Linked DNA regions of Homo sapiens: all the other regions are linked to region 5. The links are contacts of gene promoters, found by promoter capture Hi-C in human tissues and cell types (Jung and others, 2019). All regions are on one chromosome and are shown on one strand. The core of a region is centred on a gene start or on the middle of the fragment in contact, and the rest is flanking DNA. Distances in the headings are between cores, read along the strand shown.

Region 1 (4,126 bases), core at 1,618-4,117, 560 kb before region 5:
TCCATAGCCTTTGTTATGAAGGTATATACTCCCATTTATACATAGCTTTTTTTGAATGTTTACATGTATGGGCACATCTGTTGTTGGGGCTCAGAAATGGATATCCCAAAATATGGTGCTTTGAACTGAAGAAATCTTAGTATCTCTTTGGCCTTCCCTACCCCTCCTGTCTCTCAATCCTCCGTGTCTTCCAATCCACCAGATGCAGTTGTTCTCCAAAGTTCCCTTATCTGCCTAAAGGTCAGACCTGCCAAAGAAGAAAACAATTACCTTTGGCCCCTTTCCTGTGTGTTCATTAACTGAATTCATACTGTTACAGGAAGGGGGGTACTGATCCAGACCCCAAGGGAGGGTTCTTGGATCTCATGCAAGAAGGAATTCAGGGTGAGTCCTTAAAGGGAAAGCAAGTTTATTAAGAAAGTAAAGGAATAAAGAATGGCTATTCCGTAGACAGAGCAGCCCCAAGGGCTCCTAGTTGTCCTTTTTTTTTTTTTTTTTCTTGAGACAGAGTCTCACTCTGTCACCCAGGCTGGAGTGCAGTGGCGTTATCTCAGCTCACTGCAAGCTCTGCCTCCCGGGTTCACGCCATTGTCCTGCCTCAGCCTCCCGAGCAGCTGGGACTACAGGCACCTGCCACCAGGCCAGGCTAATTTTTTAATATTTTTTTAGTAGAGATGGGGTTTCATCACCTTAGCCAGGATGGTCTCTATCTTCTGACCTCGGGATCTGCCCATCTGGCCCTCCCAAAGTGCTGGGATTACAAGCCTGAGCCACCGTGCCTGGCCTGGTTGTCCATTTTTACGGTTATTTGTTGATGATATGATAAACATGGGGTGGATTATTCATGCCTTCCCCCTTTAGACCATATAGGGTAACTTCCTGACATTGCCATGGCACTCACTTGTGAACCATCATGGTGCTGGTGGGAGTATAGCAGTGAGGACGACCAGAGGTCACTCTTGTGGACATCTTGGTTTTGGTGGGTGTTAGCAGGCTTCTTTCAGCAAGGTCTTTATGACCTGTATCTTGTGCTGACCTCCTATCTCACCCTGTGACTTATAATGCATTAACCGTCTGAGAATGCAGCCCAGTAGGTTTCAGCCTCATTTTACTCAGCTCATATTCAAGATGGAGTTGCTGTGGTTCAAATGCCTCTGACAATATTGCAGGAAGAAAGACTGAGGTCTGTCAACACACCTGGACAGACTTTTGTCACAAGCCATTGTCTGCTGTTTGAGTCCAACAGGCTTTGCCCCAGGTCATTGTATGTTCTTCAAGCCTGTTGAATTTCCCTAAAAATTATTTACTATCTCCTAAAATCATTCAAATTTTCCATTTCCCTTTCCCTGAGAAATGGGTTATATAATCATCTATACCCATAGTGTGGTGGCACTATCACTCTGCCCCATGCACACTAACAAATTTGTGTGCCATTTCTCCTATTAATCTGCCTTTTGTGTGTTGATTTTTCAGCAAACCATCAGTGGTGAAGGGGAAGTTTTCCCTTGGCCCCTATGCTATATATAGATAAGTAGTTATATTATTTAGATAAGACATTAAAGGGAACTTTCTATTCTAAAGTAAAAGCTTTGTAACAAAGATTTTTCTCTGAATCATATTTATATAAATTTCATAAAGTAAAAAAAAGGAAATGTTCGCCTGTAGATTGCTGTTTAATGGACAGCTGAAACGAGGTGCTCTGTGGACATTAGTTCAGACTTGGAGGCTTGGAATCAGTTCTTTGTAACTGGCTTGGTCTCATTCCTGAGGATGACGGAGCTTCTTCCCATGACCATGCACAGATGACATCAGCACTCAGAATCTCATTCACAATGAAACCCATCTGCAGGGAGCCACCTTTACCCCGAGTATGGATTTCAGCTTTGCTTCTATTTAATCGTGAGTGACCTTGAGTCCATTACTTGGCCTCTATCATTCTCAGTTTCATGATTTGAAAAAGGAGGGGTCAAAATGAAAAATCATAGGTCTTTTTAAAACTGAGGGCTAACCTGATTGGGCCCGCCAATGTTAACTTTTCTCCCTTGTTTTTTAGTCACTTGCTTTTAGTTTATTTTAAAACCCATAGACCTAAAAGTCATGAAGCTAAGCAATATATAACTAACCTTGCACTGGCTTCCTTATAGGTAATATCTCTGGTGTATAGGTCACCACAGTAACAGTTGCTTAAGTTGTTTTGTGGGAACTTAGAGTCCATTTTTGTTTAGCTCGAGCTGGCTGAGACCTTTTGACTGGCCTGCATTAATCTCTGATGGGTGACCCTTTGATGTCAGAGGGCAAAAATCTCCACCCTTAGATCATGCTAATGATGCCATTTTGTGAACATGCATCCCATGGAGAGCCATGAAACTTGACTGTGCTTGTGCAGATCACCAATTGACTCATTTTTCCTTACCCCCAAACACCTTTCACTATGCCTTGGACCACCTTGCTTCTGTATCCCATAAATATCCCTAAAACTCCATCTTCAGGGAGGTTGATTTGAGATCTTTTCTCCTATCTCCTTGCTTGGCTGCCTTGTAAATAACCCTTTCTCTGTACAAAACTCATCTTCTCAGTAATTGGCACACTTCACAACAGACAGAACGAGCCTGGCTCAGTAAATTTTCAATTGCTAATCTGACAGAAGTATAGACATTAAGGAATTGCATAATGTAAACACCTAGATCACACAGATACATAAGATAGAGAAAATAACTGGCTGGGCACAGTGGCTCACTCCTGTAATCCCAGCACTTTGGGAGGCTGAGCTGGGAGGGTCATTTGAGGTCAGGAGTTTGAGACCAGCCTGACCAACACGGAGAAACCCAGTCTCTACTAAAAATACAAAAAAATTAGCTGGATGTGGTGGTGCATGCCTGTAGTCCCAGCTACTTGGGAGGCTGAGGAAGGAGAATCACTTGAACCCAGGAGGTGGAGGTTGCAGTGAGCCGAGATTGCACCACTCCACTCCAACCTGGGTGACAGAATGAGACTCTGCCTCAAAAAAAAAAAAAATTATTTGCCATGTCATTAAGACACACTCAGTCACTACTTCATTCAGTCCTCGTGAGTCAACACACACTTGTGAAGTATGTATTAGACTAATGACAAGAGATAAACAAATAGGGGTCTTTGCTTCCATGATGGCCTCCCTACCTCCCTATCAGAAGTCCATCAGAGAAACACCATTTTAATCTGTGCCATGGCCAGATTATTTGTTCTAAATTCTGGCTCATCAGATAATACACATGAAGAAACTTTTGGGCAGCCAGTTATCTTGTTGGGATTAGGAATGTTGTTTATTGTTAATGGAAATTAAAAATAAATTTTTAGTTCTTGTTCAACTACCTTGAAAAGTATACCCATAGCAATCTTTGCTGTTCTGCAGCCTTCACTGGTGATACCCTGGTGAACAGGGTCTAGAGTGGACCTCCAGCAAACTGCAACAGACTTGCAGAAGAGGGCCCTGACTGTTAGAAGAAAAACTAACAAACAGAAAGCAACAACAACAACAAAAAAGACCCCCCGCAAAAACCCCATCCAAAGGTCATCAGCCTCAAAGATCAAAGGTAGATAAATCCATGAAGATGAGGAAACAACAGTGCAAAAACGCTGAAAATTCCCAAAGCCTGATGCCTCTTGTTCTCCAAATGATTGCAACACCTCTCCAGCAAGGGCACAAATTTGGACAGAGGATGAGATTGATGAATTGATAGAATTAGGCTTCAGAAGGTGGGTAATAAAAAACTCATCTGAGCTAAAGAAGCATATTCTAACCCAATACAAGGAAGCTAAGAACCTGGATAAAAGGCTACAGGCACTGCTAACTAGAATAACCCATTTAGAGAGGAATATAAATGACCTGATGGAGCTGAAAAACACAGCACAAGAACTTCATGAAACACACCCAAGTATCAATAGCTGAATCAATCAAGCAGAAGAAAGGATATCAGAGATTGAAGACCACCTTGCTGGAATAAGGCATACAGACAAGATTAGAGGAAAAAGAATGCAAAACAATGAATGTAGCCTACAAGATATATGGGACTATGTGAAAAGACCAAACCTGTGATTGATTGTTATACCTGAAAGTGACGGGGAGAATGGAACCAAGCTGGAAAACACA
Region 2 (4,151 bases), core at 1,282-3,781, 900 kb before region 5:
ACTAGCCTACAGCTATTCTGTAGACTGAAAGGTTATCACAATCCTTGGCATTAGAGATAGATGAGAATGAAAATAGAAAATACAATCCTCTCTTTCTCCTAAACCATGTTTGCCCTTCCAGTATGCTGTATTTGATTATGTTTCAAATTAGTTATAACCTCTTGATAAGATCAACAGAAGGACACAAAATTGATTAGAAGGATTATAAGGTTGGCATAAGATGGCCAGCTAAAATTCTTTGACCTATATAGTATGGAAAGCCATGGTTAAAACACAATTGATCAGAGGCTACACTGGGGATAGAAGTAATGATCTAGAAATATTTGCAATTTAAAATACTCAAACGTTGGACAAATCGAAGGATTTCTTTGTACAAATGGAAGAAGACAGGATTTAAGTGATCTTTTGAATGTCAGACAGAAGCTGAACTAGAGCTCTGGTCTTGTGATGCACACTGCAGGGGTTTTTCACTACCCAGCATGCTCTCATGAACTGTGAGATGAGACAGATGAAAGAAATGATCTCGAAGCTCTGGTCCAGCTATCTGTTGTCGACTGTGCCATCTCATTATCTGTGAGAGGACATTAATAAGAGCCAACTTTGTCTACCGATAATGCAGAGGTTGTCAGGTGGTCTATGTTCCTTTTAAGCAACAGTTGTTCCATGACTTCCTTTCTTCCAAGAATTTATTCACATCAGTCCAGAAGCAGCCACAAAAAGTGGAAGACCTCTTCCTCTCCCCTAGCACAACCAGGAAGAATAAAGATGTTTTATAAAAAAAGAGTCTCTTCTGTTTAAGTTGAAAAATAAAGTAGCTTTTAGTTACAGGTTCCTTTTTTCCCACTTCTCCAGTAAGTCAGCCAGAAGTGTAAGGGCAGGCATGCTGAGCTTTATTAGCCAAAACTGTCTACAATTTGCCCCCAGTTTTCACTCCCAACCTCATTTCTGAAAATTTCCACCACTCAAACCCTAAGTCAAACTGAACTGGATTTTTCTTTTACAAATGCCCATTTTCATTTGCTTCAACCTCTAACAGCATTTCCTTTCTCTACATTTTTTAAACCATAAGGAAATTATCTGGCCTCCAGTTTCTCAGAGAAAGAGAACCACAGGTGCAACCTCAACTTACCACTTCTAAATCACCAAACCCTATACATAGACCCATTTTCTCTTGCTTCTGATTTTTAAAATCTAAGGTCATGTTGTCCGGAGACTATCCTTTTTGCATTTCATGAAATATCATTCCTTGGTTATTTGCTCTTTCAATTGTATCTTAACCTTATCTTCCATATTACTGCTATCAGGATTATAACATGTTCAAATTTCACTCATTATAAAAGCCCATTAGTAGTAGACTGGATAAAGAAAATGTGGTACATATACACCATGGAACACTAAACAGCCATAAAAAAGAATGAGATTATTCCTTTGCAGCAACATGGATAGAGCTGGAGGCCAATTTCCTTAGCATACTAACTCAGGAATAGAAAACCAAATACTAATGAATACTAGGCTTAGTACCTGAGTGACAAAATAATTTGTACACCAAACCCCCATGACACACAGTTTACCTGTAAAACAAACCTTCCCATCTACCCCGGAACCTAGAATAAAAGTTATGATAAAAATACACTTCCTCAATCTCATTCTCCTGATAAGTATGACCTTCTTCTTAAATATAGTTAATATAGTACTTTTACAATAAGTAGATAATTATGAACTAGTTATTTAATGTTTTTCTTTCCTCTTAATAAAAGTGTTATGGAGTAGGTACTGAGGTTGTTTAACTCGCTACTGAATATCTAGTGCCTACCACAGTTTCTGACACATAGTAGGAGGTGGTCAATAAATTTTTGATCACTGATTAATATGTAAATGAATGAATGCATAAATAAATATATGAATAACGTTCTTTCTTTGGATCTTTGCTCATATTGTTCCTTCCCTGTAATCAGAATCCTCTTTCCTGCCTTATCTTTTTTTAATACAAATCTTACATATTAACTGTTGATATTAAAATAAAATGTACTATGTTGTCCACCTTCTCCCACACCAGAAGAATTCCCTGATGTCTTCAAGGAAAAATAGTTACTCCTTCCTCAGAACCCTTGTTATTAGAATCTTTTGGTAACTTACACTCTAGTAATTTGTGTGCATGACTTTTCTGCAGTGAAATACTGAGTGCTCACTCCAGTATAGGGACGTCATTGTGTCCTCCACAAGAACATGGCATTGCACAGAAAAAAATGCTTAATAAGTTTTGAGCTAATTGATTCATTCATTTGTTCATTCACTCAAGAATACCCACCAAGTACCTACCAAGGCCAGGGCTAGAAATAAAACGGTATATAAGGCATAGTCTCTGTCTTCACAGGGCTTTTCATAGGTGATACAGAAAAAGTAACAGGCAATTATGTTAGTGTGGTAAATATTATGGTAAATATAACTGCAGAACAAGGAGCACCTAAGATAGTCTTGTGTCTATAGGAGGCTTCTCAGAAGAAGGGATACTTGAGTTGAGTTCTAAAAGGTGGGTAGAAATCAGCCTAGGCTAAAGAAGAAGAAATAAAGCATATAAAAAGCTCCAAAGGTGTGTCAGAGTGAAGCCATTCCAGAAAGTTAACAACAATTCTAGCCAGAAATCATTATAACTAAGCACGAATTAGGCTGCACTTTGACCCACTTCCTTGTAACTGGAAGTCATATAACACTAGTTACAGAGCACATGCATCTTTATGGTTTCTATAGATAGGATCTCTGACATTAGAATCATAAGGTTTTTGTTTAATAAATGCTTAAGCAGATCCTGGATCCTGAATTCCAGTGAAGTAGGTGACACCAACCAGTTTGACCCTCCCCACCCCCAAAGGAACCAAATCAGCCTGAGAATGCAGGTTCTTCATCTCCCTGTCCCATGACTTTGCCCTGAACTCTTTGACCAATCAACATCTCCACACTTCAGCCCACTCCAAAATCCTTAAAAACCCTAGGCCCAAATGCCTTGGGGACACGGATTTGATATTTCCTCTCATGTCCTCATTTGGCAGACCTCCAATTAAATCTCTTTCTCTGATGCAACCTGGTGTCTTAGCATGTTGACTTGCCACATGCATCAGGAACAAACCTATTATGGTTAAAAGAACATGGCAAACTCAGGGAACAGAAAGGGTCAAGTATGGTGGGGACTAAATGGACACGTGGAGGAGGAGCCAGAGCTAAATCCTCAAAAGCATTCTAGCTTTATTGAAAAGGAAAGAGGAATCACTAAAGCAGAGAATTATATGACAGTGGGTTGGTGGCATAGAAAGTTCTTCACTGGAAAAATGACAACACAAAAAATGGTCAAAACCAAAAAAAAAGACAGGAACTTCCATGGGAGAATATGACAGTTAAACCCTCTCATCTTGGATTTCTCACTCTAGGTATATATTTTCTAGGATTTTACATTCACCCTGATAGTAATGTGTATTGTGTATTATGTCCTTTGGTCATTTTTTTTCTGTAAGACTTTAATAGTCTTCTCAGGTTGTTTAAAATTAATGAGGCAAATGTCCTCAATCAAGAAGCAATTTAAGAACATGCTGCTAATTTCAATGAGTTCTGTAAATGAACTAATTTAATACCAGTTGACCCTTTTATTTGGGGAGAATGATTTGTAGCTATATTTTCTTGATTTGTGCCTATAAGCCTTGGCAGTTTGAATGGGCATTTTGAGCCCAGGGGTAAACATTAATTATGGTACAAGGATGGTGTTCTTGTAAGGGGGGCATAGAACATTCCCCTCAGTAAATAAGTGGACAGTATTTTTTTAACAGGAATGTCTTGACCATGTTTATTAAAACTGAAAGCCATAGAATAAACAACACTGATATAGTTTGGATGTTTGTCCCCTCCAAATTTCATATTGAAATGTGATCCCCAGAGTTGGAAGTGTTGCCTAGTAGAAGGTGTTTGGGTCATGAGTGTGGATCCCTCACGAATGGGTTGGTGTCCTACCCACTGTAATGAGTGAATTCTCATTCTCACTTTATTAGTTACTGCAAGACCTGTTTGTTGAAAAGAGCCTGGAATCTCTCTTGCTCTTTCTCTTGCTATGCGACATGCTATATGACATGTACCAACTTCACCTTCTGCCATGAGTGGAAGCTTCC
Region 3 (3,865 bases), core at 33-2,532, 630 kb before region 5:
TGTAGTAAGTTCTCCTGGAGGCTGAAAGCCATGCCTAGGAGTAACTAGAAAATATGAATAACTTTGTGTGATTACTAATTAAGTTTCTGAAATAAAAAGCAAACACTTCTGAGAAGACCAGATTTTGTCAAAGAAGAGCAATGTGCCTCACACAGAAGAAGGGCCACTCTAGACCCACACTGCTCCTGTGGCCACCCTATACCATTATAACCAGAGTTTCAGTGAAGAGGAAATAGAATATGATGCAAAGACCATAACTACTCTTTGTAAGTAATTATATATTTAGAAATCAATTTATAAGAGACCTCATTTCAAAATACAGGTCTGGTTATTTGCAATAAGTCAATTTATTGTCTTCACAGTTTCAAATTCTAGAAAAATCCTTGCTTGGTGGTGCTCTCTACCTATTGAATCAAGAGTCTGACACCCAGAAATGGCCAAAGAGGTCAATCGAAGTGATGTTTACCACATTCTCTCTAAATGAAACTTACTCTGCATGTGCCACTCATGAGGTGACACACTGAAGATGCCATCACCATCCAGAGGTCATAGGATGAGAACAAACATACTGGATGCACTGTGACAATGTGAGGCTGTGTTGAGAATATTCTACATCTTCTAAATATGGGAGTAATGTAAGTGACTCTGCCTCTCTGGGGAAGGAGGAGTGAGAAGATTCTTCCCGTATTTTTCTTCGTGAGAAGGGGAGTAGACATCGCCTCCTACTGCAAGTGCCATTCTTCTCCTTTTACAATGCCCAATACCGTGGCATTGTCCTAAGTAACACAGGGACTGTCACAAGCTCACTGTCTCCAGTATTGTCCTTACTTAAAGTGCCCATGGTCTCTCGTTCTCTCTCTTATTTTCCATTGTCTTTTCGCTCTCTTCTACACAATACCAACAGAAATACTTGGTCTATATTTTAGGTAGTACGTTCCACCCTTCACAAATAGGGGGTTATACTATACCTGTGAAGATCTTCATCCAAGACTTTACAGGATGCTGTAGAGGAAGACATTGAGAGGAAATCAGGTCATAATAAATATCCCCAGCTCATATGTTAAAGCAGCAGATTACCTGGGAATCAGCCCTACTAGAAAGCTGCTGTTTTGGCTACCCATCTATTCTATCTAGCTGCAACACATGGATTAAGAAGACACTTTTCAAGGAGGTTTTTTTATTGCTGCCAAACAAAAATATTCAGTTTGGAGTTACATGTTCTTGCAACTCATTTATACCATTGATAAATCAATCTCATTGATGATGCTCTGGTGCCTCCTGCTTCATATAGCTAGGAATCTCTAAATTTAACATCACAAACTCAAATATCTACAGGCATCAAGTAAACCATGTAAATGAGCAAAGCAGAAAGGTGGCAGTTATGAGTAAGAATGGGAAGTGTGGCAAACAGAAAGTAGCCACCCCACTTGAAGAGGCAGCAGCTACATCGTTTCATGGTTTGCCATGATTTTGCATGGTAAATCAGCTGTCTTCTATTTAAAAAAAAGAAAAAGAAAAGAAAATAAAACAGAGAAACTCAGACTTTTATGTTAGATACTCAGAATATGAAATATTTAAACCCAAATTAAAAAAGAAAAACCCCCACCACACTAATATAAGACAAATAAAAACAAAATAAAACACAACCCCAAGCTAAGATATCCAGCCTGAATTCAGCCTATACCTGCACATTTACAGCTGCTCTTCTGTATTAATTCATTTGATTCTTGACCCACCTGGACGTCTTTTTACCAGATAGGGCCTGAGTACGTTCCCTGCCAGTAAGTCTTCTCTGCCTGACACCCGTGTTATAGCCCCTGCTCCAAAAGTGTGAATTTGCAGAGCCAAGTTCCCCTTCTTGTTCATTCTCAGAGTTCCAGAATCAGAAAAAAATGTTTTTCAAATTAGAGTTTGACTCTTAAGGAAAACTGTCATTTTCATAATGTGAGCCATGGAATGTCAATTTCAAATTTGTTCGATTTTCAGATTTTCATATTGGACCCGGCACAGAGTAGAAAGTTTTTAGATTAGCTTTGAGAGTGTGAGCAAATCCTTGATGAAGAGTCTGACAGAAGCATCTTCTAATCTTGTCTCTGACACTTCTTAGCAGCAAGAACTTGTTAAAGTCCCTCAGATTCATTTCGTTTTCATTTTCTCATATGCAAAATGGAGATACTAATAGAAGATTGTTATATGGATTAAATAGGACAGAATATAAGATAGTACCAAGAAAATCACTAAGTGCTGTTGAAACACAGGACATGATTATGATTGATGCTTTTAATATTTAAATCTAAGCTTGTCTTAGAATTTCTTTTGTTTTATTGACATTCCCGTTTTCCTTTTTTATCTCATAAAATGGAATTAAGAAAAGGTCATGTATAAAAATGAAAAAGCTAATTTGCAAAACAGGGTCAGATTTTAATTAAATATATTGACCTGATGCAATAGTTTCTTCAAAATTTCATTTGTAAAATACTTACTGAGTGTGTACTATGGACCAGACATTGTTTTAAGTACTGGGTATATAGGGATGAAAAATCTAGGCAAAGAGCCTACCTCATGGGACTTATATTTTTAATTAGGAAGACAGATCATAAATATGTAAACAAATAGATACACAATTCAATGTAGTTTACGTGTTTTAAGGTATAATAAAGCAGAATATGAAAATAGAAAGTGACAATAGAGAGAGAGGAGCTCTTTTGAGTAGCACAATTAGAGAAAGCCTCTCAGAGCTAGTGATGTTTGAACAGACATATGACTGGACTGCAGGAATTCACCATGCAGGTCCTTCGAAGAGAAGTGTTTCAGGCAGAGGAAGGAACAAGTACAAATTATCAAAAGCAAGAATAAGTTTGGTATAGCTAATGAATAGGAAAATAACCCCACTGTTGCTAGAACAAAGTGAGAGGAGAGGATAAAGAGTTAGGGGATAAGATATTCTCATTCTTATAGCTGGGAAGGGCTGGATCATGTAGAGTCCTACGATCACAGTACGGATCGCGGTCAAACTTTGTTCTGAATATCACTCAAGTTTGAGCTGGAGCAACATTACTTCAGCTGCTAAGCATAAGGGAATTGGTTTTAGGGGGACAAAAGTGAAAGAAGGGAGAGCAGTCTAGGAGATACATAATACCAGTCATAACCAGAGTAGTAGTGGTGTAGGCAGGGTGAAGCAATCAGATTAAGGATATACTGCATTGTGAAGGTGGCACCAATAGGACTTGCTGATGGGGTATATGTAGGAGTGAAGGAAAAGGAGGTATCACAGGTGATTTATCAATGTGGGGTCTGAGTTACCAGGTTAATGCTACTGCCATTTAGTATGATTTAGGGAGAGACTATGGAAAAAGCAGATATAATAGACATGGAGAGTGAAATGAGAAAATGCATTTTAGATGTATAGCATAGCAAGTTTGAGATTTCTGGCTGGGCATGGTGGCTCATGGCTGTAATCCCAGCACTTTGAGAGGCCGAGGCAGGCAGATGACTTGAGGTCACGAGTTCGAGACCAGCCTGGCCAACATGGTGAAACCCTGTCTCCACTAAAAACACACACACACACACACACACAAAATTAGCCAGGCGTGGTGGTGCGTGCCTGTAATCCCAGCTACTAAGGAAGCTGAGGCAAGAGAATCACTTGAACTCGGGAGGCAGGGGTTGCAGTAAGCCGAGATCACACCACTGCACTCCAGCCTGGTCAACAGAGCAAGACTCCATCTCAAAAAATAAATAAATAAAAAGATTCCTGGTAGACATCAAGAAAATATATCAGGTTGGAAGCTGAATGCTTGCATCTGGAGTAAGGCCAGGGAAAAAGCCAAAGATCCTTGGACACTGCAGTTTGACTGGTCAGGAA
Region 4 (4,084 bases), core at 362-2,861, 650 kb before region 5:
CAATATGTGGTAATTTATTTTGGCAGATTGAGCTAAACAAGGCACTTTCCATTGAGCTTTTAAAATTTTGTTTATTGTATTTTTCAGTTCTAAAATTTTCATATACATAATGTGTATATATACATAAATATAATGTATATATATGTAATATAATTTATATATAATATATATATATTTCTTTGCTGTAACCTTCTATTTCCTTGCCAAGACTTTCTACTATTTTGTTTCAAGTATGTTTGTAGTTGCTTGTTGAAGCATTTTTATGATGACTACTTTAAAATCTCTGTCAGATAATTCTAACATCTCTGTCATCTAGGTGATGGCATCTATTGATTTTCCCTTTTTTGTAAGTTGATATTTTCCTGGTTCTTGGTACAAGTGATTTTTAAAATTGAGAACTGGAAATTTGAGGTAGTATATTATGAAATTCTGAATCTTATTTAAACCCTCTATTTTAACTGGTTCCCTTTGACACTGCTTCAACAGTGAGAGCCTGGGAGTGCTGAATTGTTACTGTCAGGTGGGAGTAGAAGCCCAGTTTCACATTGGCCTCCACTGAATCCAGTGAGGGGGAGAGCTTCTCATTACTGTTGGGTGGAGGAGGAGTTCTGGCTTTCCTCTGGGCCTCTACTGATAACACCCAGGCTGAGGCAAGTACTTGTTACTGTTCCTCATGTAGTCTCCACTGAAATCACAGAGGGATGACCTTAATACTAATGGCTAGTCATGAAAAACTTGACTCTCTGCTAGATATCCTCTGATACCACTTCAGTGGGGAGGAGAAGGGCCCTCTCCTGTTTTGATTTTCAGTTGGCTGGAAGTCCAGGCAACCTATGTAGTCTCTAATGACACCACAGGGAACATCTTGTTATGGCCCAACAGTGCTGGAAGTCCTAACTCCCTACTTGGCTTTCTTGGGCCTCGTGCTAGGAGAGTTGCTGGGGCACCTTGCAACAGTGTCATTAGCATGGGATTCTGTGTTTGCCCTTGGTTTTTGATGATGTGGGTGGGGAGTTGTCTGTATTTATTTTTATGATGTTTGGTTGAAATAGAGAATTTACAGTTTAAAAGTTTTTTTTTTTTTTGTATTTTTATGTTACCCCTTCCTGATCCTTTGGCTAGAGAGAACAAGCTTTCGTTGAGGTTTTCCATTCCTCATACACTGTTTCTGGGACACTGGCTTTTCAGCTACCAGTTTGGGATATATGATGGAAACAGAAAACCTACAAAACTCACCACCATGTTGTTCCTTGCTGACATCCCTATCCAGTCTGCCTTCTTCTCTCCATCTTTTAGAGTCTTCTTATGTTTGTTTTATATATAATGTCTAGAGTTTTTAAATTGTGCTTAGTGGGAAGAATAGGGAAATTATATCTACTCTATCTTATGAGAAGTGGAAGTGATGATAATCTTACATATCTCTAAATCTTCCCACCAGTATGGTTATGATCTCTTTCTCCTTCTCATCTCTTCTCCCAACTTTGTTAATAAAAAACGTTTGCTGATCAAATTACCATCTTTTGATTCAATTCGATTAATTATTTAACATACTCTATTTCCCGTAGGCATAAACAACTTTCCTACCTAAGACAACTGTGTTTAGTGAGGAGTACATTCATCTAATAACTAACACTCTTTTTTTTTTTTTTTTTTTTTTGATATGCAGTCTCGTTCTGTTGCCCAGGCTGGAGTGCAGTGGTGTGATCTCAGCTCATTGCAAGCTGAGCTTGCATTGAGGCATTGCAAGCCTCCTGGGTTCACGCCATTCTCCTGCCTCAGCCTCTTGAGTAGCTGGGATTACAGGTGCATGCCACCATGCCCGGCTAATTTTTTTGTATTTTTAGTAGGGAAGGGGTTTCACTGTGTTAGCCAGGATGGTCTTGATCCCCTGACCTCGTGATCCATCTGCCTCGGCCTCCCAAAGTGCTGGGATTACAGGCGTGAGCCACCGCGCCCAGCCATAACTAACACTCTTTATGGCTGTATTCCATGGTTCTTGGCATTTCACTATCAAACTCAGGAAAATCCATAAAACTCTCTTGACTGATTGGGGTTGGGGTGGGGGATAAATGCAAGAGTCATGTATTATAATAAGCTTTGAAATATGAAGATGGAAGCCACAATAGCAAAATTAAATAGAAAAAGTTGTTATAATTTCTGGTATACTTAGTATTAATGTTCTCTGGTTCTTTTGACATGATTGAAATATGTCAATAGGGACTATCCTCCATATTCATAGTCATCTCCTTATTGACAGACACAAGGAGACATGGTGAAGAATACAAAGTCATCCTTCATGCTTCTTCTTTTCCTAGAGTAGGTGACAGCTGAGCACTACTTAGAAGGAACATCGTAGCTAATTTTGACAAATTTCTCTGAAAGTTTATCTTGGAATTGAAAGCCATAGTATAATAGCATCTTCATTTTCACTGTCTCCACCTCTCCTCCAAACCACATCACATTTCTTTGATAATGTAGAAAATGTTGGCTGATTCACAGAGTTTCCTACAAATGACAGATTGCTTTCTGAGATACTATAATTCTGACAGAGAAATAATTACAGAGGATGCCTGAGTCTCTCATTTCTTCTCTTTCTCTCTGCTTTCCAAGTCAATAGACCAGAGAGCCTGTGTCCCTGGAGTCTGCAATGCAGAGGTCCTCACCTCATAGACTTTTAAGCCAAGATCAGAACTTCTATTTCTGAGTAGAAATATCATGTCTTCACCACATGTGTTTCTGCACCTTTGTCTAAATAGAGTTTCAAATATTTGGTGAAGATGAGATTGTAAGCAAATTCCTGATGCTATCTTCAGTGTCTCTGAGAGGTAGAAAAATATATTTTTTTAATTTTTAAGTAAATATAAAATTATAAAATATAGAAATTTAAGTAAATTTTTTAAGTAAAGTATTTTTATATTTAAGCAAAAAATTGCTAAATGATTTCATTTTAAAATACATATATTTTTGAAATGGAGTCTTGCTCTGTTGCCAGGCTGGAGTGCAGTGGTGCAATGTCGGCTCACTCTAACCTCCGCCTCCTGGTTTCAAGTGATTCTCCTGCCTCAGCCTCTCAAGTAGCTGGGACTACAGGCACACACCACCATGCCCGGCTAATTTTTTTGTGTTTTAGTAGAGACCAGGTTTCACCATGTTGGTCAGGCTGGTCTCAAACTCCCAACCTCAGGTGATCTGCCCGCCTTGGTCTCCCAAAGGGCTGGGATTACAGGCATGAGCCACTGAAAAATTATTTTTTAAATCTATCATGGTTGATAAATATCTGTTTCTTTATGAATAAGGGTTTAGAAGCATTCCTCTTTTTATTTTTTTGCTTCACAATTCATTACCGGTAATATCGTATAATTTTTTTAGTAGTATAGACAAATTTTTATAAATCTCTATCAAGTTTCTTTCATTTATGACTTACAATCATACTCATTGCTATTTGTAGTATTTGGATCATTTTGTATTTTACAATAATATGAATTTAGGTAAATTCTATTTTGCATAACTACCATGCAAAAAATGTACGGTAGTTTTATAATTTTGTATGTTGCATTATTGAGTATATTTCGGTTTTGACTAGACATTGATAGGAACTGAGTTATCTGCTTGTCACGTTTCATTTATAATGATCGAATGAATTTTTATATAGACAAGTTTATGACTTAATATTTGTAAACCTTGTTTTTCCTCCATGAATCACAGAGTTTCTGTGCCAGGTATTGTAGTACATATTTATATCTTTTTGCATCATAGTGCTACTGTAATGATTGAGTCAGCAAAGTGTCCAGAGACAGAATCCCAGATGCTGTTTTTAATAGAATGGCTAGCGGTAAGTTAACTTCCATGGGAAATGATTATAAACAGCATCAGTGTATCCCAATCAACCCAAACTAAATGAACACCCAACTCAACTTTTTCTTAGCAGCACCCCACAAAATTCTCACCGTCATCAAAGAGAGTTCTTCCATTCTACCCATCATAACAGAAAGTGTGACAGAGAGAAACTCACAACGGAAAGAGCCATCTGCCAACTTTCGCAAATTTTCAAACACAAATGACCTTGTGCACACATTTCCTGGGC
Region 5 (4,031 bases), core at 861-3,360:
CAAGTGATTTCTCCCTCCCTCCTTCCCTTCCTTCCTTCCTCCCTCCCTTCCCTCATTCCTTCCTCCCTCCCTCCCTCCGTTCATTCCTTCCTTCCTTCCTTCCTCCCTCCCTACCTCCCTCCCTACCTCCCTCCCTGCCTCCCTCCTTCCTTCTTTCTCTCCCTCCTTTCCTTTACTTCTTCCTCCTCCTGTCTTTATAATTAATGCCATTCAAAAAAGGAACTGAAATGGCTAATGGCATCTTATATTGAGTTTTATGCTTTTCAAAATATGTTCACACTACCTTCTTGAATCCCCACAATAATTCTATCAAGTAGGTATTATCTTCCACATAAAATCAAAAGACTACGAACATTAAAATGACTTGTTAGAAATCACACAGTAACTTAATAGAAGGACTGGGCTGGAACGCAGGGCTCCTAACTCCTAGACCAGTGTTCTTTTAAACATCGCCCTTTGTTATTAGCTAGCTCAATGACAGGATTTTGTAGAAATGATAGGTAAGCTTAAAAGCAGGAAATGTAACTGTGGCAGCAGTCCTAGGAAATGCTACAGTTATCTTCTGAAACAGCCTGCCAAACAGTGTGGAGTCATGGCGGGCTCCCAAGGACAGCGTGATGATTCCTCTTGGGCCTCTTCACCTGGTGTCAGGTTATCTTGGTAATAACTGGGGTGAACTAGGCCCTCCACTGGGCTCTGACATTTTGCCTGCCACTTGTGCACACTGAAAGGCATGACATTTCTTACACCTTTGAAAACATCAGGGAAAATCAAAGAAATTTCTCTCATTCTGAACTTTACCTCTGCTGGGCCAAAAGGTTTGCTGCCAGGGCAGTAATAAAAGCAAGAAAGGGGAGAGTTCCATAAAGAAGAGATAAGTGGAATGGATTTATGGGCTGAAATAACAATCAACCAATGACCACACTAGTTAAATTGTCTTCTTCAATACCTGCACTCTATACTATGCCTTTCTTATGTAAAGAATAAACAAAACCTTTTTTTTTCTGTTTCAAGATAATCTTGATTTTCATTGTGTGTAATTAAGGAGTACAACGTGATATTCTTTGGATTGATGCACAGCAGATACACATATTTTCAAGTCACGTGATAATTTAATACATTCACATAATTTGTGTACTTGGGATATCAATCAACTTACATATTTGTATTTTCTTTGTGCTAGAAACATTCAAATTTTTCTCTTCTAGCTATTTTTAAATGTACAATAGATTATCATAAGCTATAGTCACTTCACTGATCTATAGAACATTAGATGTTATTTCTTCTATCAAACCAAATATTTGTACCCATTAATCAACTTCTCTTTATCCAACTTCTTTCCTCAGCCACCCTTCCCGGCATCTCGTAACCATGAATCTACTCTCTATCTTTATGAGATCCACTGTTTTAGCTTCCGCATACAAGTACAAACGCAAAATGCTCTTTTGATAAACTTATGCATAGTGAAGCAGTGACTACAGTCAAGCAAATTCATATATCTATCATCTCACAGAGTTAATCATCTTTTGTGTGCGTGTAACAAGAGCCCTTAAAATCTACTCTTTTAGCAAAAATCCTGAATACAAATAATTTTATTAATTATGTTCTTTGTTCTGCACACTAGATCTTCTAGACTTATTCATTCTGCATATCTGCTCCTTTGTATAAAGGATAAACAAAAACTTTAAAGTACTTCTCTCTTCTGTCCTTCCAAGCCTACTAAGCACGTGGCATCCTCCCAGATAGAGAACCAACTCATTCACACACATAGTTGGCTGTTGTTTCACTCCGAAAGAGTTGATTTGAAATTATTTGACTGCATTAACTGAACTGATAACCAGCTGATCATTGCTACAGATAATGGGATTTCTTCAAGGCATAGAGAAAGTCGTAACAATCCGATCTAGAATTATGATTTTTTTGACTATTCATATTGTAGGCCCCAGCCATCTCCAGTTGTGTATTCATTCACAACCCATGAGCTGGCACCGGGGGATTGGCAGACCCTTGTTCCTGGAACTTCTCACTGGTTATCACGCCTAATGTTGGAACACTGTGGTACAGTGAACTCTGATTCCTGGAATTGTTACCAGGCGACCACGGCGTCATCAAATGACCTGGCAATTCCGTCTACTGATGTCTCGAACATGTTTCAGACTAAGCTACGAAATGAAACTTGGGAAGACTTGCCAAAAATGTCCTGCACAACTGAGATCCAAGCAGCATTCATTCTCTCTTCCTTTGTGACCTTCTTCAGTGGACTCATCATCCTGTTGATCTTCAGGCTGATCTGGAGATCTGTTAAAAAATGGCAAATCATCAAGGGAACAGGAATTATCTTGGTCAGTTTCCTTGTTAGGGATCCCTCTGTGTGAAGTCAGAGATGAGTTTGGGGTAGTTTTGTGTTTAGTAAAAGATCTAAGCTTCATTCAGTTTTTCAAGCTAACAGAGTCAGCTTCTATAGCCTGGTGCCTCAGAAAGGGTGGTAAGCCAGACCTCAGGCCACATTCTGAGGCCTGAAGAGACAGGGCCAAGCCTCTTCTCTCTCCCATCACTGGAAAAAGCAATGTCTTGTATGGATAATGATTAATGTTAGCTCTGGAAACAGAGGTCACTGTTCTGAAAAAAAGTTCATAAACATTATGTCCATGCCTCTATCTCGAATTTTAACAAGACAATTGTGCTAGGTCATAGAAAGGAGGTGAAAGGGAACAAGACATCAACATCAACCTTGCTTTCATAAATTGTTCATGCATAATGCATATGTACTGACGTGTACATTGCCTTTTGTATACCATATGAAGACAACACATTGAGTTGCACATACACAGAGAAGCCCATGCATACATGCCTGTGCCATCCAGGCATAGATGCAAGGACATTTCTTATACCCAAACAAGCTTAGCAGGAGTTGATGTTGTTGAATAACAGCTGGCAAATGATGATGATGAGAATAAATGATGTATTATACAGATAAGGCATTGCTTAAGAGCTTGAAATAAAGCTCTCAAATGCTGTGTAATGGATGTTCTATTACCAGAGGTCAAAGGTGAAGAGTTTTACTATACCCTGTGTAGTTTGTTTCCAATTTTGCTTCCCAAACTTTCTTTCTCTGATAGATTATAGCAATTTCCATAACACAACACATTTCACCTGTGCATCATAATATTGAAAATTTGCTTAAAACATTTCTTTTAGTGCTAAAACCTACATAAAATATAATTCATAAATTGATAAGTTTTTAAAGTTATTGGTAATATGGAATTTTGTTTTCCATATTTGAAAATTATCCAATACTGAAGCTTATAGATTTTGTTCCTAAACAAGTTTATTCTATTGATTATTTCTACATTATGGATTTTAAGCTGTGGCACAATAATTGGAGAAAGAATTCTGGGATACTGACATATGGGTAAATAGCTATGATGGATCTGCCTCCTTGTTTCTACCTTGTTTTGTTGTTGTTAATGCACAACTGAATTTGTAGGATTTTTAAATCTTCTTAGTCTTCTGCTCCAGGCAATGTTCTTCTTCTCCATTATGTTCATTTTGTGTGATTACAAAAATGTGACAGTACATTTGTCAATTTCCTATATTTTTCATTTCTTACTTTGGGTGTAATTTATGTCTACACTTCGATCCAGGTATACCCTTTAATTACAAATATTTAGCAAATGTTACAAAATGTTAAGAAGTGAGCCTGAGCAACCAGAATGCTGTACCATTCTGCTTTTGAATCTTGAGGAAAGAGTTTGATCAAGTTGAGTTACTTTTCAATGATTTGTTTTATTACATCAAATTAAGAGTGACCTGTTTTTCTCTAAGCCTTTGGAGAAGTTGGACAAATGCAAAAAAAAAAAAAAATCAGAAATCTAGGTGTACTGTGAAGAGTTATTTTAAAAATTATTTGGAGAGTTACAATTTCTCTCCTTAAATGTGCATTTAAAACATGTATTACATCTATAAATATGAGTTTATTATATCTTAGGACCAATTTGTTTTTCCACAGAAGGTAGCTCCAATTTTATGAT

Evidence for each region. The method cuts DNA at HindIII sites, captures the fragments that hold promoters and counts their contacts. A contact is called where the count stands out against the background at its distance.
Region 1: a contact is called between a fragment that was not itself captured here and the fragment with the promoter of KCNU1 in region 5, in 1 of the 25 tissues and cell types used here (heart right ventricle).
Region 2: a contact is called between a fragment that was not itself captured here and the fragment with the promoter of KCNU1 in region 5, in 1 of the 25 tissues and cell types used here (dorsolateral prefrontal cortex).
Region 3: a fragment that was not itself captured here is called in contact with the fragment with the promoter of KCNU1 in region 5 in 1 of the 25 tissues and cell types used here (mesendoderm cells).
Region 4: a contact is called between a fragment that was not itself captured here and the fragment with the promoter of KCNU1 in region 5, in 1 of the 25 tissues and cell types used here (mesenchymal stem cells).

The regions. Positions count from the first base shown.
Region 1 is chr8:36,220,927-36,225,052 of GRCh38, forward strand. The region is part of intron 1 of LOC105379371 (a long non-coding RNA gene); the gene reads left to right. Among named protein-coding and RNA genes, the nearest start is that of KCNU1, 560 kb to the right of the region's middle. The HindIII fragment of the contact is 5,277 bases long and covers 230-4,126 here.
Region 2 is chr8:35,879,696-35,883,846 of GRCh38, forward strand. No RefSeq gene overlaps it. Among named protein-coding and RNA genes, the nearest start is that of UNC5D, 650 kb to the left of the region's middle. The HindIII fragment of the contact is 5,030 bases long and covers 17-4,151 here.
Region 3 is chr8:36,156,492-36,160,356 of GRCh38, forward strand. No RefSeq gene overlaps it. Among named protein-coding and RNA genes, the nearest start is that of KCNU1, 630 kb to the right of the region's middle. The HindIII fragment of the contact is 4,753 bases long and covers 1-3,659 here.
Region 4 is chr8:36,131,243-36,135,326 of GRCh38, forward strand. No RefSeq gene overlaps it. Among named protein-coding and RNA genes, the nearest start is that of KCNU1, 650 kb to the right of the region's middle. The HindIII fragment of the contact is 3,009 bases long and covers 108-3,116 here.
Region 5 is chr8:36,782,264-36,786,294 of GRCh38, forward strand. It overlaps KCNU1 (potassium calcium-activated channel subfamily U member 1), which reads left to right and starts at 2,111. Exons shown (of 27, transcript NM_001031836.3): 1 at 2,111-2,342. The coding sequence starts at 2,148. The HindIII fragment of the contact is 3,588 bases long and covers 1-2,661 here.